Linked DNA regions of Homo sapiens: region 2 is linked to region 1. The links are contacts of gene promoters, found by promoter capture Hi-C in blood cells and fetal thymus (Javierre and others, 2016). All regions are on one chromosome and are shown on one strand. The core of a region is centred on a gene start or on the middle of the fragment in contact, and the rest is flanking DNA. Distances in the headings are between cores, read along the strand shown. Region 1 holds the start of ZP1 (zona pellucida glycoprotein 1). Region 2 overlaps MS4A15 (membrane spanning 4-domains A15).

What was found. Contacts are between HindIII fragments. The CHiCAGO score rates a contact against its expected background, and 5 or more counts as called.
Region 2: a fragment that was not itself captured here is called in contact with the fragment with the promoter of ZP1 in region 1 in 1 of 17 cell types (endothelial precursors); the score reaches 6.5 in endothelial precursors.

Annotation. Positions count from the first base shown.
Region 1 is chr11:60,864,688-60,870,108 of GRCh38, reverse strand. ZP1 (zona pellucida glycoprotein 1) reads right to left here and starts at 2,567. Exons shown (of 12, transcript NM_207341.4): 1 at 2,352-2,567; 2 at 843-964; 3 at 209-572. The coding sequence starts at 2,547. The HindIII fragment of the contact is 3,593 bases long and covers 1,296-4,888 here.
Region 2 is chr11:60,772,755-60,778,175 of GRCh38, reverse strand. It overlaps MS4A15 (membrane spanning 4-domains A15), which reads right to left. Exons shown (of 7, transcript NM_001098835.2): 5 at 4,692-4,784; 6 at 4,226-4,339; 7 at 1,443-2,571. The coding sequence ends at 2,461. Among named protein-coding and RNA genes, the nearest start is that of MS4A10, 9.9 kb to the left of the region's middle. RefSeq lists enhancers at 1,845-2,474, 2,475-3,104, 3,105-3,736 and a silencer at 2,619-2,738. The HindIII fragment of the contact is 2,280 bases long and covers 1,228-3,507 here.

The DNA of each region.
Region 1 (5,421 bases), core at 1,318-3,817:
TTTACAAGACCTCTTCTAGCTTTAGTACACCTATACATGTTTAAAGCTGTTTTCCAAATACTACAAAGGAATAAAAGAATCATCTTTTTCTAAAAAAAGAAAAAAACAAAAAAAGAAATGGCTTAGAGCCCAGTAAAAGGCTGTTAGGCCACCCTGTACTCCAGAAGTCCCCAGACAGAGGGTAAGTACACTCAGATGTCCTGCGTACCTATGTAATCTCGTTTGTTCACATCCCAGTGTTCCAAGGTGCCCCAGTGGGGTTGAGCCAGGGTGGCGAGGGTAGGTCCAGGTCCAGGGGATGGTAAAGCAGGGGTTGGGTGGACAGAGCTGTGCCCTGGGTCCAGTGGGCTGGGAAAGGCATGGCCAGAGCCTTGGGAGGTATGGCCAGAGGTGGGGAGGAAGGAAAGGGTTTGTGGGGTTGAGACAGAGAACATGGCGGGTGGTGCCAGCTGGGAGTCCAGAGTCCGGGAGGGGTCAGGTTTGGGACAGATCAGAGTAGCGTCTTGTGCCACATCCACACGACCATTGGGCAGCACAGCCTCCATGAACACCCTCAGGTGGAAACGCCCATCCTGCAGGTGAGAGGCCATCATAGAGCAGCAAGGTGAGGCCACCTAGCATACCCAGGCAGGGGACGGGCCCACGAGAGCTGAGCTGGCCATTAGGCAGGGAGCTGGATTCATGGTGGATTCCAGAAAGTACCTTCCAGAGCTTAGTTTCCCTCACCCACCAGCTCAACAGATCTTCGGCTTTGGCTCCTTTCTGGTTCATGAGGGGCCTCTTCAGCCTGACATGACACTAGGACAAGCTTGCCCCTGTGCCAGAGCATGAACAACCCCTACCTTCTCCAGCACGTGGCAGCCTCTGTAATCGGCCGAGAAGACTGCAGGCTCCTGCGGCCTGGAGGTGACCCAGTGGTAGCAGATGGAGCAGTTGTTGACATCAAATCGGTTCCCAAATTCATCTGCAGTGGGGGAAGGGGAGGGGCCAGGGATGTTGAAGGGTGCAGGGAGAGGTTGCTGGGGTCTCGGAAGGAGTTCCCACTCAGCAGCCAGGAGACCTGGGTTCTTGCCTTAGCTTTGCTATTAGTTTGTTGTGTGGTCTTGGGCAAGCCCCCTCCCCTCTCTGCTCTCAGTTTCCACAGCTGTAAGGGGATGGGAGGGTCTTAGGATCTTTCTAGCTAGGGTTCCCTGCTCACAGCACACGGCAGCAGGCAGGCACGAAGATGAGGTGGAGAAGGGATACACAGGGTCTCAGGCACTGGCCTGAGTATTTCACATCACTTCTTTTAAGCTTAGTTATCCACATCCTGTGGCTGAGGCAGCTGAGGAAGGGAGGGTGCGTGAGCTTTCTTAGGTGCACACAATGAGGGGCAGAATGAGGATTTGAATCCTGGGCTTTGTAGAAAGATCTGAACCCATTTCCCAGGTTAACTGTGGCTGCTGCAGTTGCTTGGAGACACCCCCTAGGTGTCCACCCTGCTTGTTGCCCCAGAACAGCCTGGGCATTCCCTGGGTGTGGGCATGTCCCCATGCCCTTGTTCCATGAGCACGGCCAGGTTCATCTTCCCCACCTTGCAGATGAGGAAACAGAGGCTTATGAGTCAGGTCAGTTGTCCAAAATCATCCCGTTTAGAAGCTGCAGATCCAAACCCCAGTTCTAAACCCACACCAGGCCACGCCTACTAGGTCCTGCTGCTGGAAGTGGTTTATGGACCCTCAGCCTCAGTTTTGACTGAGCGTGGTTAGAGATGCAGAGCCTAGGCTGGGTGCAGTGGCTCACGCCTATAACCCCAGCACTTTGGGAGGCTGAGGCAGGTGGATCACCTGAGGTCAGGAGTTCGAGACCAGCCTGACCAATATCGTGAAACTCCATCTCTACTAAAAATACAAAAAGTAGCTGGGCGTGGTGGCACACACCTGTAGTCCCAGCTACTAAGAGGCTGAGGCAGGAGAATTGCTTGAACCTGGGTGGTGGAGGTTGCAGTGAGCTGAGATCGTGCCAACTGCACTCAAGCCTGGAGAACAGATTGAAAGAAGTGAGACTGTCTCAGAAAAAAAAAAAAAAAAGAAAAGAAATGCAGAGGCTTGGCCCTGCCCCAGGTCCACTGAATCAGAACCTGCACCTCAACAAGGTGGCCAGGTGTTTCCCATGCACACTAACGTGGGAGAAGCTGCCCTGGGTGATGATTCTCCTCCTTGCCCTTTTCTGTGGTGAGGGGGTGGGGGGCTGGACACCCCCAGGCTGGAGGGAGGCCTCTGTTCTTGCTCCTTCAGGGGAAGGGTCCCAGCTCCCTTCTGGCAGCAGCCCGTGGCCAGGGAGGCAGGGGCCAGGACTCTGCCAGCACTCACCCACCACCTTGAAGCGGAGAGTCTGGCCTGGCCTGGGGAACACCAGCAGCTGCATTCCCTTGATCCCACAGTCGTAGCTGTGCCGGAGGCCTGGGAGGCCAGGGTCGGGCTGGAGCCACCTACCCAGCCCCAGGGTGGCAACCAGCAGTAGCAGGGCCACAGGGTAACCCCAGGTCGTGGCTGAGCCTCCTGCCATGAGACGCCACAGACACACCCCCTACTCCCTCGCCACCAGAGCTGGGCCCAGGCCTTTTATGGAGGAGGTGGCAAGTGGGTGCCTGTAAGGGCAAAGGGGGCCCACCTGGAGGAGCACCCACCTGGCCACCAGGGGCTGTGGTGAAACTCCTGTTCCAAAGGCAGCGGGAGGCAGAAAGCTGCACGTGGCCCCTCACCCTGGCTTTCTGTCTCACAGCTGTGGCTTTGGAAGGGAGGAGGGAGCTTTCCAGAAAACTGAGGTTGCAGATGGGCTGTGGGAAGGGATCCAGGGCTAGGAGGTGGCACTGCAGACCTCAGGCCCTCCACTGTCTCCCTCTCACCCCAGCCTTTCTGCATTCCCTTCCTGCCCCAACAGGCTCTCCAGGTCCTCCTTCCTGCCTTGAGGCCTCAGGACCACTGGGAGCTGCCGGCCTGGTTAGTACAGTCACAGCTCCTCAGGCAGGGCTTTAGGGGCATTAGAGCAAGACCAGGAAGACACAGCCCTCAGAGCTGGCAGCGGAATGGGGACTGCAGGTGAGTAAACAGACCAGTAGCACCTCCAAGGGCTCTCCTGAGGATTCAGCCGGTCAGTATGATGATGACTATGACTAATAAAAAATAACAAGGACAACTAAATGTAATGTGGCATCTGGATGGGATCGTGGAACAGAAAAAGGCAGTAAAAGTGAAGAAAGTGGATTTTAGTTAATAATAATGTGTCCACATTTGTTTGTTCATTAATTGTAATAAATGTATCATACTCAAGTAAGATCAGTTATGGGGTAAACTGGGCCTGCGGTGTATGGGAACTGTCTGTACTATCTTCTCAGTTCTGTAAATCTAGAACAGTTCTAAGACATAAAAGTGGCTGGAAACAACAAGAATGGCCTGTGGTCTGCCATGATTACAGTGCCAGGTCTTGCTTGTGTTAGATCCTTATACCGCCTGACCATCCTCTGAGGAAGGGACTGTCACCAGCCCCACGTCCTGGCACTAATTCCTGCAAGTGATTAGCCTAGGGCCCAGCAGCGTTTGAGCTCAGCAAACATTAGAAAATGCAGCTATTATAATTAGCAGCTGCTGGAAGGGGAGAGCAAGAGGCTTGATAGCTAAGAGCCCGGTTCTGGTGAGGTTGCAGAGAAAAAGGAATGCTTATACGCTCTTGGTGGGGGTGTAAATTGGTTTGACCACTGTGGGAGTGTGGTGATTCCTCAAAGAGCTGAAAACAGAACTATCATTTGATGCAGAAATCGCATTACTGGGTATATATCCAAAGGAATATAAATTGTTCTATCATAAAGACACTGAACCTGCGTGCATATGTTCAGTGCAGCATGATTCACAATAGCCAAGACATGGAATCAAATGCCCATCAATGGTAGACTCAATAAAGAAAATCTGGTACATGCTGAGCACGGTGGCTCACGCCTGTAATCCCAGCACTTTGGGAGGCCGAGGCGGGCGGATCACGAGGTCAGGAGATCGAGACCATCCTGGCTAACATGGTGAAACCCTGTCTCTACTAAAAATACAAAAATTAGCTGGGTGTGGTGGCACGCACCTGTAGTCCCAGCTACTCAGGAGGCTGAGGCAGGAGAATCGCTTGAACCCAGGAGACGGAGGTTGCAGTGAGCCGAGATTGTGCTGTTGCACTCCAGCCTGGCCGACAGAGTGAGACTCTGTCTCAAAAAAAAAAAAAAAAAAAGAAAAAGAAAAAAAAAAAAGGAAAATGTGGTACACATACACCATGGAATACTATGCAGCCATAAAAAAGAATGAGATCACATCTCTTGCAAGAACATGGATGGAGCTGGAGGATATTATCCTTAGCAAACAAATGCAGGAACAGAAACCAATACCACATGTTCTCACTTATAACTGAAGGCTAAATGATGACAACATATGGACACATAGAGGGGAATGGCACACACTGGGGCCTATTGAAGGGTAGAGGGTAAGAGGAAGGAGAAGGGTGGAAATAATAACTATTGGGTGCTAGGCTTAGTATCTGGGTGATGAAATAATCTGTACAACAATCCCTCTGGACATGCATTTACCTATATAACAAACCTGCATAAGTAACCCTGAACCTAAAATAAAAGTTTAAACAAAAAAAGTTGGTTCTAATGGTGCCCCAACCACTTTCTTAGCTGTGACTCAGATGCATTATCTATTCTGAGCCTCAGGTTTCCTGTTTGTAAACTGGGGGTGATAATGCTTTCCTTGCCCACATGGTGGATAGGAAGACACAAAGAGACAAGTCATGGGTACCAGGTGCAGTAATGATTTAATGCTTGGCAATAATTCACTTCTACTGTGATTAAAGCTCAGCTGGGAAAGCTTGGTGGGGCGGGGTGGGAGTCCCTCTGGGGGCACAGTGGGAAGAGGCACCCAACACAGCATCGAGGATGGGCGACATGGAAGTGTTTTTGGAGGAAAGGGGTCCTGAGCAGAGGTGGGAGGAGGCGGGGAGGACAGGGATGGTGCAATGGGGATCTGGGGAGAGCAGAGCTGGAGGAGGAGGGAGGAAGCAGGTCACACAAAGGTCCAGGACAAGGACTCCAGGCAGGCTGAGGGTGCTGGCGAGGGAAGGACTAGGAGGGGAAGGAGAGGAGCCAGGCAGGAGCGGGGAGTGGGGTGGATTTTCCCTGAGGGACGATGTGGAAGTTTTAAACTTTTAATTTTGAAATTATTTCAGATTTGCAGAATTTCCATATAGCCTCCTCCAGATTCCTCAGATGTTCACTGTTCACTTTTTACATTTGCTGTAGCTCCCGCTTTCTCTCTCTGCATGTGTGCAGACATACACGCACGCACACGCACACACGCACACATTCTTCCATATCATTCAAGAGTCAGTTGCAGAAATGACAGA
Region 2 (5,421 bases), core at 1,118-3,617, 92 kb after region 1:
CAGTTCATGAACATAGGATATCATTTCATTGACTTAGATCTTTGTTAATTTCTCTTAGTAACATTTTGTAGTTCTCAGCGTTCTTTTTCACAGAAATTATATCTCTACCTCCCATTTACTCTCAGTAGTGGTAGAAAACTTAATTTTGCCAATTGAGGATAACTCAGTCACTTCCAATGACTTCCAGTCCATAAGCCCTTAGCCCTCATCTGTCCTTGCTAGCCTCTGCTGAGGTATAGTTTGTCCTTGCTGTTCTCTCAGTGGTGGCCACTGTCCCCACTCTTATTTGCTGCTCATATTTGTTATAAAGTTATAGTCTCACGTAATCCACATTGCACATCTGGCCACTGGCCAGCTCAGGAAACACAGAGAGCTTTCTCACGCTTGGACTGATACACTACATGGGAATGCAGGACTATTGTGTCACCAGGCACAGTCCCCAGCCATCTTTATGTTGTGGCTCCATGCTGTCTGAATATGGGACATCTCTAGTGACCTTGTAGTCTCTAATTCCTCTTAATGGACCTGTGGTTTTTGGCCTACACACTTCCTGAGGGATTTGGTCAGCAGAGGAGAGAGGGAAGCAATCCCAGCTTGGGGCTAACCTCTCTCTTTTTCTCCCTCTCTCTCCCCCAACTCCTCCCCTCAGTTCTGAAATGTCTCTAGTCTCCTTTATATGGCAAGAAAACTGGTCCTAAATCTTCAAGTACATTTCCTCCAACTCTATACTTAATGATCTTAAACTGAAAGCTCTAAATCCTCGAGTCTCCTTTCTTGATTGTAAAAGCCAAAGCTTGTTGTACCCCTTACACCAACTCTGCACTGGCATGATCCTGAGAGTGAATGTCCCCTTGAATGGCACCTCCCTTGCCCCACCCTCATTCCAGTGTTGTGGTCACGGCACTTAGCTACCACGTGGACCACCCTTCCTTTGGGAAGACTTCACAGAAGGGGCAACGTTTAAATAGGGCCTTAAAGGAGGAGGGGGAGTTTGTTGGGTGAAGAAGAAGTGAGTGTGTTGAGGAATGCAGCCCTGCCTTAGTTTTGGGGATGAAGAAACAGAAGGAAGGAGGAAAAGGGGTTGGTGGGAAGCACTTAGGTTTGTACTAAGGGGAGACCAAGTGGTGAGAACACGGACTCTGACGTCACATGGAACTAGGTTTGGATCCCAGTTTTGCTCCTAACTAGCTCGGTGGCCTTGGGCATATAATTTAACACCTTTAAGCTTCAGTGTCCTTAGTTGTGGAGTGGGGATATGAAGGCATGTTTGTTTGAACCGAGATGGGGACAGAGTAAGTGTAAGGATTACACCACACAGAGCGAGGCACCCAGAGGTGCCCTTTTGTGACAGTGGGATAGTTACCCAGGTCCTCTGATAAACATGGGATGACCCTTGGAAGCCCCTGAGGTTAAAAAGAAAAAGTCATTGCAACAAGACCAGCTCAAAATTTAAGCCACATGGTTTATTTCCTTCTGTGGTGTGGATGAGACAAGCCATCTCATCTACCAGGCCTGGTGAACACCAGGCTGACAGTGTCTCCTTGTCCCCTGGAGACGAAGCCCAGGTCCTGTGGTAACCTTCTGTGGTAGCCTTGTCCTTGGGCTATGGGGGTGGGGAAGGGAGTGCTGAGAGGCACAGGGAGGTCCCAAACTGCCACTGCTGTGCCCCTGTCGATGCTGACTGTGGTGGTGCCTCAGGAGTGGGCTGGCGGCAGCTCTCCCCTGCAACCTCCCCTCCATTGGGAGATGGTAGGGGGTGGGGGGCGGGGCCAATGCTGACTTCATATTACAGACAAGGAAAATGAGGGTTTCCAGGAAGCAGGGGGACAATGCCTGGCCTAGACCCAGGACTTCAGGGAGCCTGGGGAGCTGGAAGGGCCTGATGAACCTTATCTGGTTCAACACTCTAGTTTCCAAATAGGAAACCTGAGTTCCATGGATGTGGCAACAGATGACAAAGGACAGAGCTGATCTTGGGGCCAGGAGACCTGCGGCCAGGCCACTACCCTGCTGTGAGGCCTTGGCCTGGTATCGGCACCTCTGTGGAATGCCAGAGTCAGACTCTTCCATTCTGGAGGATTCCGGGCTCTCTGACCTTCCCGAGGCCCGAGGGTCAGGGCAGGCCTCGAACCTGAGTCTCCAATGAGGCCAGGATTTCCCCAATGAGCAGAGAAATGCTTAGATGCACAAGGTGGGTGTCCTGGAAGGGTGACAGGGCTCAGGGAGCTGAAGGACACACACCCCTGACGTCAGCCCGGTGTCTTTTAGAAAGAAAGCACTGGGGAAAGTGTGGGAGAGATGTCCCTGGGGACACTTCACTCAGATGCCGGAGTATGTGTAGATGTGGTGAGGGAGGGCAGCTGGGATGGGGCTGGCCCCTGATGAACAAGGTGGGGGTGGGGAGAGGCTGGGCCCAGAGGGAAAAGGCTGGACTCCACCCGCAGGTGCCACATCTGCTACTCAGACGACTCCTTGGGCATATGCCACATTGTCATAGGCAGGGGGCGCAGAGGCTGCCGGGCTGGGGATGTTGAAGTCTGCGCTGAAGGCGTTTGGCAGGAAGATCACAGGCTGCAAAGAAAACAGCACTGAGCGTCCTGGAGGACGCTGGAGCTTCAGGGTAGTGGTTCAATAGTGCCCCCTTGTGGGTAATCTGAGAACAGCGCCCTGGTACTGAATTCCGCAAGTCTGAATCGCATGCTCAGGGCTCTCCGTGCAACCAATATTTCAAACAACATTTACTGGGGCCAGCTATGATCCAGGCATTGGGAGTACAGCAGTGAACAAAACAGACAAAAGTCCCATTTCTCCAGGCGCTAACGTTCTGCTGTTCTTTTTTTTCTTTTCTTTTTTTTTTTGAGACAGAGTTTTGCTCTTGTTGCCCAGGCTGGAGTGCAATGGCGTGATCTCGGCTCACTGCAACCTCCGCCTCTTGGGTTCAAGCTATTCTCCTGCCTCAGCCTCCCGAGTAGCTGGGATTATAGGCGCCTGCCACCATGCCCAGGTAATTTTTTGTATTTTTAGTAGAGACGGGGTTTCATCATGTTGGCCAGGCTGGTCTTGAACTCCTGACCTCAGATGATCTGCCCGCCTCGGCCTCCCAAAGTGCCGGGGTTACAGGCATGAGCCACCACGTCCGGCTCTGCTGTTCTTTCTCTCCCGACTGCCCTGGCCTGGTTCAGGACTTCGCTCTCTCTTGCCTGCACCGTGGCACCAGCCTCCTTGCAGCTTCCTGGCCTCGAGCCCCGCTTGTCCACCCTCTCCACCTTCCGGCACTGGACAAATCCTCTTGACTGATTTCCCTCAACCAGCTCACTCCCCTGCTCAGACCTTCAATCCCCTCACCCTCAATGCATCCCATCGTGCACCTGCCAAGGGCACCCCACCCTGTGGCCTGCATTTGCCTGCCCGAGGCAGCCTTTGCTCCAACTGGTTCCCCTGCCTTGAACACTCCCTCCAGCCCCTTTCTGTCATCACTGTCCTCCATTTTTTTTGGAAATCAAAGCTTAATTTCCATCTCTATCATGCTGCCCTCCCTGATGCCCCTGTCTCCCATGTGGCCTGGGAACTCCAAAAAGTCTCACTCCTCTGGGTGCAGCACTGCCCCCATGCCCTGAGCCTGGGCCTTCTATTCTGCAAGGCTGCCTGTGGGGCTGCACAGAGCAGTGGCCCTGTGGGTGCTGGTGCACCCAGTGCCACGGGGAGAGCAGTCCTGTCTTCACTGACCTGCGAAGACGTCTTTGGTTTTGTTTTGGTTTTAGAGACAGCCTTCCTCTGTCACCCAGGCTGAAGGGCAGTGGTGTGATCATAGCTCACTGCAGCCTCAACCTCCTGGGCTCAAGCGATCCTCCTGCCTCAGCCTCCCAACTAGCTAGGAGTACAGGCACGTACCATCACACATGGCTAATTAAAAATACATTTTTTTTTGTAGCGATAGGATCTTTTTATGTTGCCCAGGCTTGTCTCAAACTCCAGGGCTCAAGAGATCCTCCCATCTCATTTTTCAAAGTGCTGGGGTTATGGGTGTGAGTCACCATGCCCAGCCCAAAGACTTCTTTGGGCCCCCTGACATGGATGGGACACCCTTCCTAGCGCTGTCTCTTCTTATTGCTTCCCAGAGTGCAGAGGGAGGGGTCTGGAGGCAGAGCGCGCTCCCAGCCAACTGCCTTCCACACAGGCTCAGCTCAGGTTTAGTGGACGTGGGGGTGGGGGTGGGGGTACTCACTGCACTGGCCTGGGCATGGATGGCTTGGCACCCGAAGTGCATGGCAATGACCGCTGTGAAGAACTCCAGGACAGTGAAGATAGTAAGCACGGCCAGATAGCCCCTGTCCACATCCTGGGGACCAAAACCCACAGAAAGGTGAGCCCAGAGTTCTAGAGTAAGGGGGTCCCCCGAGTGAGAACCACTTGCCCAAGGTCATGCGGCTAGTTGGGAGCAGAGCTGTGCCTGGAGCCAGTCCCCCTGCCGCCAGTCCTGCACCCTCCCCTTCACCCTGCAGGCTGCCTCCTTGCTCCTTCTGATGCCTATCTTGGGGAAGGCTCAGAGGATCCATGGATTCATGGGGTCTATAGGGACTGGCAGGCCCTGCCAACGTCCTGGCGCTGCAAACTCTCACCTCCCTACCCTCCTGGACATGGCTGCATCATTTTCCAAGTTTTCCCACCCCGAGGGCCATCTGACAACGCACCCGGTTGGTAACACCAAAATCCATGAGCAGAATGGCTGTCCCAGCAAAGGCCGCCATGACGCTGAGGATGTTGGTGCCCAGGCTGCTCCTCACCTGCAGAGAGCAGAGAGACAGGAGCAGAGGGAATAGGCAAAGAGAAGGAGAAAAGGCAGGGGCTGTGGCTCAGCTGCCCAGCCCCCAGCACGCTGCCTCCCACAGCCAAGGAGGCAGTGGCCACACCACCCTGCACACAGCTGTGTTCTCATTGACTGCTCCCCTTTTCTCTTCTCCTCCCCTGGGACCTCGGGAGGAGGTCTTGTTGTCTCTCTTTCCTTCTCTCGTCTTCTTGGAAGCTGCTAGGGAGAAGGGCACCACCTCCTTTACAGCCTTTCTGGGTGGAGTTTGCAGCCTCCAGCTTACCCCGTACTGTGGCTCCCTCTCCCCCAGGCCCAGCACCTCGCAGGAGAAGCTGCAGCTGAGGCCTGCTCAGGGGCATGGGTTGGGGGAGGCTCTTTGCTGTGGACACTGAGGCCTGGTTGGGAGAGGGGTTGAGTTCATTTCTATGAGGTTCCAGGAAGTGGCTGGCGGAGTGAGGCACTGCAGACACTGGTGGGGCACCAGGCAGGGGAGACAGGAGAGGCAGGAGCTGAAGGTCTGAAGTCTGGGTGGGCTGAGAGGCCTAGGACTCCAGGGTCTAAAGAGCGTGCAGGGCAAGTGACTCCTGGGGTGGTCCAGGCAGCCACCCAGGGGT